Regions from separate parts of the Homo sapiens genome. Here region 2 is linked to region 1. The links are contacts of gene promoters, found by promoter capture Hi-C in blood cells and fetal thymus (Javierre and others, 2016). All regions are on one chromosome and are shown on one strand. The core of a region is centred on a gene start or on the middle of the fragment in contact, and the rest is flanking DNA. Distances in the headings are between cores, read along the strand shown.

What was found. Contacts are between HindIII fragments. The CHiCAGO score rates a contact against its expected background, and 5 or more counts as called.
Region 2: a fragment that was not itself captured here is called in contact with the fragment with the promoter of NREP-AS1 in region 1 in 2 of 17 cell types (M1 macrophages and M2 macrophages); the score reaches 5.8 in M1 macrophages.

The regions. Positions count from the first base shown.
Region 1 is chr5:111,910,991-111,914,396 of GRCh38, forward strand. NREP-AS1 (NREP antisense RNA 1) reads left to right here and starts at 1,518. Exons shown (of 4, transcript NR_046678.1): 1 at 1,518-1,730. It also overlaps a transcript of NREP not described here. The HindIII fragment of the contact is 1,485 bases long and covers 1,464-2,948 here.
Region 2 is chr5:111,787,091-111,790,496 of GRCh38, forward strand. It overlaps a transcript of NREP not described here. Among named protein-coding and RNA genes, the nearest start is that of NREP, 32 kb to the left of the region's middle. The HindIII fragment of the contact is 1,763 bases long and covers 687-2,449 here.

The DNA.
Region 1 (3,406 bases), core at 268-2,767:
GATACTGTTTGAGCACCACCACTGTCAGTTCTGACTAATGCTCTAGGGACACTGGTTGTCAAGTATCCTGGCTATCACCCTGTACCCAGTGATCTCAATAACACTCCTGCACCCAGTGTTTTGGATATCACCTCTGCACCCAGCAATCTGGATATCACCCCTGCACCCAGTGTTCTGGATATCACCCCGGCACCCAGCAATCTGGATATCACCCCTGTACCCAATGTTCTTGATATCATATCTGCATCCAGAGTTCTGGATATTACCAGTGCATAGAACAGTGTCTGACACATAGTAGCTACTCAGTAAGTTTTTCTAAATAGACTGATGAATATATAATCTATTTACTTATTTTATATTTTTTACTTACACACTTTGCAGAAGCATTACCTATTTGTTAGTTCAACCCTACACAATTGTGTTCAATAACAAAGTATCTAGCCCATTAATTCTGCACTGCTATTATCTCTACTTCCAATGCCATTAATCAAGACAATATTGAGTAAGCACATACTAAGTGGCAGAAACCCTGGGCCTTGGAAAGACCCTCCAGGAGTGAGCTGGAGATATGTTATATGCTTGGACTTCTTCCCAAGAGCACAGATGTCATAAATAATTCACAACTAGATGAGAAAAGGAGATGTCAAAGAAATTAAATGACTCATAAGTGTGCTACTATTATTCAGGCTCAATCTGACCTCTTTTTGACTTTGGTGAGAGGGTCTATTTTTTTGACCATCTAAAAGACATAAAAATAGACACCAATTATATGACAAGTTGCAAAAGCTTGAGGAGACCTCTGCATAGACATAGAATCCAAACCGAAAATAATTTATACTCATTGCCTACCTACTATGTACCTAGCACTGTGCTGAGCCATATACACACAGCATTTCAGGTAGTGCCCACCACCATCCTATAAGCAAGTACTAGTCTTCACCCCATTTTACAGATGGGATAACTAAGTTGTGGGGAGGCTAAATAATTTGTCTAATGGTACACGATTGATAAGTGCCAAAGACAAAATATAAATTCCTGTCTGTCTACCTTATAAAGATGTAAATTTAGGAGAACCAGCTTCTCTTGAATTGCAAATTTTATGCTAGAATATCTAATATTTAAATTAGAGCATTCCTTGAACTTTTGTTGGCCAGTTTAATTTTTCTTTCATCTTGTGCACACATTCGTATGGTAACATTCTCCAGTATTTTCCTTGCACCCTTTTTTCATCATGCTCTTCTCCCCAATTCCCTCATCCAGAATGGTGTGGCTTCCGTAAGTGACTAAAACCCACCCTGGCAAAATGAGCTAGGGTCTGCCCTGCTATAATTCAGACAGATCTGAATTACTTCTTGACCCTCCTCACTTCATCCACCCTGCACCTTGCCTGCCCTGTCCCCTGGTGCCCTTGACTACTAGTCTGTTTTCTATATATTGTGACTGTATACACACCTTGCCACTGAAGCTTGAGTCATAATCTATTCTATCTGTATCTCTGAAAATGATCTTTACTTCAACTTTCCTAAAGGATATAGATTTCTCTCTTCTTTGGCTCCAATAATTTGTGCCCAAACTTCAGACCAGTAATTCCCCAGATGAGCCTGCTGCTACCCTACTTGCGTCTTACTTTTGCAAGCTGTTTCCATTCTTATTAGGCTAATAACTGAAGACAGGATCAAGATATCTTTCTAACCTATCCAAAATACCTGAATATTCTGTCACATTCAACAGTAAGTCAATACAGGATTATGTATACATCTTTGTATTCTTCATATTACCCAGTCCAGCCTTCTGCACTTAATAGGTACATGAATAAGTTAATCAATAAATGAAGGAATAGTTGGTTGTTTGATGAATAGCTGGAGAAGAACTGGCATCGTGCCTAGGTAAAGTAGAATATTATTTCATAGGTACCACTTGTATTTTTTTCTTCCTACACAAAGTGTTTAAGAAATATTTGTTCATTAAGATTATTAGCATTGACCAGTAATTGATTTTGAGTCACTTATTTGGCTTACAATATTGTTTACTTATTAGCTACAATGTGTAAGACACCTACTGTACAGCAGCCAATATCTTGAGTACTTTTACAATTTTTCATTTTACAGCACAACAAAAGTTGAAGGTAAGTGTTAGTATCCATTTTTTACAGTAAAGGCAGGATAGAAGGTTCAGAGAGGTTAAGTAATTTGTAGAAGATTTCTTAGGAAATGAATAGGAGTCATGGATCCCATGTCACTCTAATTTCAAATTCTAAATTCTTTTACTCTTTCTGCTATTTTGCACTACTTCATTTTAAAAGCGGTCTTATAAAATATCCTTCTAAAATTTTTCAGGTGTTTTTCAGGAGATAAGGAACTAGCACATTGCCTTTCATTAATCCATTACAGCAGACTAGGTTGCAAGATAATCTAGCTGTTTCCTAGCAGAAGAAAAAGAATGACCTTGAATAAATGGAACCCAGCATCACTATATTTTGATGTGAGAAAAGGAAGTTGAAAAGATTCAAAGGATAGACATCTTCCCAGATTAACAGGGATGTGAGTTCATAGTTCAGGGTCCTAAGTGACTGAAGAGTAAAATGAGGAGGCTAAATGCCCAGATGAGACAGTAACAAAAGATAAAAGGAGGAACTAATCAGACAATTGGGTAAGAGGATGATAGTGAGGAATGGGTGCTGAAAACATGCTTTCCTACTTCACAAATATTTTGAGGAATAATTAAGATTTGTAGGGAGAAAAATGAATTCCCAGCTCTACCTTCTCCCCGTCTCTGGATTTGATTATAGGGATGAGGCTATTACTACAAAAAACTAAGGGTATGAGAGGATAAGAGAAGTAGAAGAGAATTCCACCCTGAAATAACATCAGCTTTTAAAAGTTACCTAATGATGGATGAGGGTATTCAAGTCAAACTACAGATTTACTTTAAAAACTAAAAGCATGCCAAGCTTGATTTAGGGAATAAAGTGGAAGCAACCATCCTTACGCATCTAAATGCAAAATTATTTGGTGGCTGCTGGTACTTTTAGATATGAGTCAATTTAGTAGATAAAACTTTGTAATAGTAATGGCAGCCAGAGGCAAAAGTTGGCACCAAGCTATGGATAAATTCTTACTTTAGGTCCATAGATCACTGTAAAGATCCATCTAAGAATGTCCAGTAGGTCTTTAGCTTGTAAAAAGTGAAGTAGAGGTTCCTCTTCAAAGAGACTCCTCCCTGTCCAATTAGGAATAAACAGTAACTTCTCTTAGAAGCAAAATTTATTCAAAGACCTATGCTAACATTCTTAGATATCTGCTAGCCATAATAGAGAATCAATGTACTTTGTGTTCTTAGCTCCCACATTTTACCCTAAATATTTGCCCTCACATGCTTATACTGGTCCAAGCAAGCATTAGGTCAT
Region 2 (3,406 bases), core at 318-2,817, 120 kb before region 1:
AACTTAGGAAATGTCTCTGTCCTATATTCTCAGCCCTGCTGGATACCCCTCCCTGTGCTTCCTCCCACATCCCAACAGGTTGTATTCTCTGCTCAAGGTCCCCACAACCACTTCTCATCTGACACTGGAATTTCCCAGTGATCTCAGTAGGGAAACATTCTGAAGCCACACACACTTCAGCTCCAATGCCCAGTAGTTTGAAAGAGAGAGAGAAATATTGTTTAAAATTAAAACTAACCACTGGATAATTCTTCCTTCCAATTGTTATTCCTAACAATGAGAAAGTAAACCATCTTATTGTTCTTTTGCTCCAGGCTTTGTGGGTTGCGAAGAAAACTACAGTAAATGCATCTTTGAAATCCAAAAGCAAGCCCATGATAGAGTTGGGGATAAGTACTGGAGAAAGTTCAGTTATAATGGATGAGAGTTGGAGATATTCATAACTGACACTCATTGGCATTATTATTTTTGCCACAGAAGGTGGAAACAAGTATTGGAGAAAGAAAAGAAAGGAGGGCTTGAAAAAAAAAGGTGAAGAAATCAGGCATGTAGTTAAAGCCGTAATTTCCAAATGCGTTTTTTTATTCTGCATGTTAATCAGTAAAATATTTTTGAGGATGTTCTTCAAATATATGTATATTTCTTTTAAAATTCTGTAAATATACTTATTGATCTGATATTGGTAAAGCTTAATTTCTTATTTTTTACATTAAAAATAAATATCAGGCCAGGCATCGTGGCTCATGCCTGTAATCCCAGTACTTTGAAAGACTGAGGCTGGCGGATTGCTTGAGGCCAGGAGTTTGAGACCAGCCTAGGCAACATTGTGAGACCATGTCTCTACAGAAATAAAAAGAATTAGCTGGCCAGGGTGGTGCACACCTGTGGCCCCAGCTACTTTGGAAGCTGGGAGGATTGTTTGAGCCCAGGAGGGGGAGTCTGCTGTAAACCATGATTGCCACTACCCTCCACCCTGGGTAACAAAGCAAGACCCTATCTCAACAACAACAACAAGAAAAATCAAAAGAAAAGAGAAAAGAAAAGAAACATCAGCAAAAGTTCTAATATTGTGTTCTTGAGCCCAGTGGATTGTAATGCAACCCCTCATGGTGTATTCACTTTACTTTTGTAGGTTCAATGGGCCAAAATGGCCAAAATATTTATGATCAAAAATGTCTAACATAAATTGTTTGCATTTCTGGTATAGGAAATCTTCCTGTATTCTCAATATCTTCATTAAATCTCTCATACATACAAATATTTTGGACGAAGTGTTGGCGTGTGTGTGTTTGTATTTGTGTGCATATATATGTGGAAATTAGGGAGAGAAACTGAGCTGTGTCTCTGCTGACACTGTGTGATGTAGAAACAAAACACACATGGAACAATGAGAAATCCATAAAAATGAAAATTCAAGCCAGAGCATGAAGTCAGAACTGACTGGGAAGAACATAATTCAGTCTCACATGCACCCAGAATTCCTGGAAAAGCCAGGGAGACAGCCAGGCGTTCACTTCACATGGAATGGAATTTGAATGAATTTGATTTGAATCTCAAAGGACAGGCATCATAGGTAATATCTGGGCTACACAATCACATTTCAAAATTACACACATGGTGATGGTTAATTTTATGTGTCAACTTGACTGGGCAATGGGGCACCAGATATTTGGTCAAACATTTTGAGTGGTTTCTGTGAGAATGTTTTTGTATGAGATTAGCATTTAAATCCATGGACTGACTAAAGCAGATTGCCTTCCCTAATGTGGGTGGGCCTCATCCCATCAGTTGAAAGCCTAAAAATAACAAAAAGCTGACCATCCCCTGATTAAGAGCAAATTCTTCTGCCTAATAGTCTTTGAACTGGAGCATCAGCTCTTCCCGCCTGACATGAGCTCTTCGTGGCTCTACAGCAGCTTCCGGCCTTCAGACTCCAAGTGGGACACTGGCTGGGCAGATTTTGGACTTGCCCACCTCCATAACTGTGTGAGCCTATTCCTTATTCTAAATCCCTTTTTGTGTGTATATAAATACGTATATACACATATGTGTGTGTTCATGTATATACACATATATGTGTATGCCTGTGTATGCATGTGTGTGTGTGTAATATATTGTTTCTGTTTCTCTAGGGAAGCATCATACACATACCCAATTGCAGCTTTTTTTCTTTCTCTTGACAAATTTCAGAAAAAGATGTTATCAAACACATTGTGCAAAAAATTGACTTTGTTTTCTCAAACTACCACATTTAATGATGCATGCGGAAGTTTCCACTTAAACATATTTTTAATGTGTATTATTCCACCTAAATAGAGGCAGAGTAAAGGTCTACATTCATGTTTTTTCTTCAGAATAAAAATTATTAGTGCCGCATGTACATTTTATGATAGACTTATCTTTGACAAATTCCTAGCTTGATTTTCTTAAGCCCATATTTTATCAGAGAAGCTTGGTGGCTCTAGGCAGGGATATGCCACTGTTTGCTCTTATTTATTCATTTAATAACTGGTCTATAGTTTCTCTACCATGGGTAAAGCATATAGACCCCCATGGTTGCTCTCATTGTACTTTCAGTACAGCTGTAGATTCTCTTTCTAACCTTGAGGAGGACTCTATTAATAATATGAGATTATTAGCAGCTTTTATTGACCCTCTCTTTGTCATTAATCTTTTGGCAAGAAATAGTCTTGAGCCAAACCATATGAGCTCACATGAAATTACTCAGAGAAAAAATAGGCAAATAACTATAAGATCTTAGGGCTATAGGCAATGGAAGAGCTTCCTTGTAATGACATAAAACTCAAAACACATAAAGGACAAGATTTGTAGATTTGACATGAATAAAATAAATTTATGTAGAGGAGAAAATACAAACAAAATTGAAAGGCAAATTGCACCCTAGATACACAACTTGCAACATATATTACAGCCATCAAGTAGTTTTCTTTATATAGAAAGAACAATTATGAGCAAATAATAAAATAAAGACTATGTTGATAGAAAAAGGAGCAAAGACCATAGTTAATTCAAAATCAGAACTACAAATAATCAATACACATGAAAAGTTTTGAATTTTTCTTGTAAAGATATACACATATCAGATTTTTTTGAACTGACAAAAATAAAAGAGAAGTATAAAATCCAGGACATCCTAAATACATGAAAAACAAGAACTCCCATACCCTACTGGTGAGTCTTTAAGTCTGACTAAACTTTCTGGAGGAATCTTCACCCTATACTTCAAAAACCTTAACTTTTTTTTTTTTTTTTTTTTTTTTTTTTTTTTTTGTATTCATCTTGGTACTGCAATTCCTCTTCTAGAGATTTGTCTTAGGAAAATAATCAGAAAAAGTATACATAGGTATTTGTTCAGGAATGTTTACCTACTGGGCACAGTGGCTCA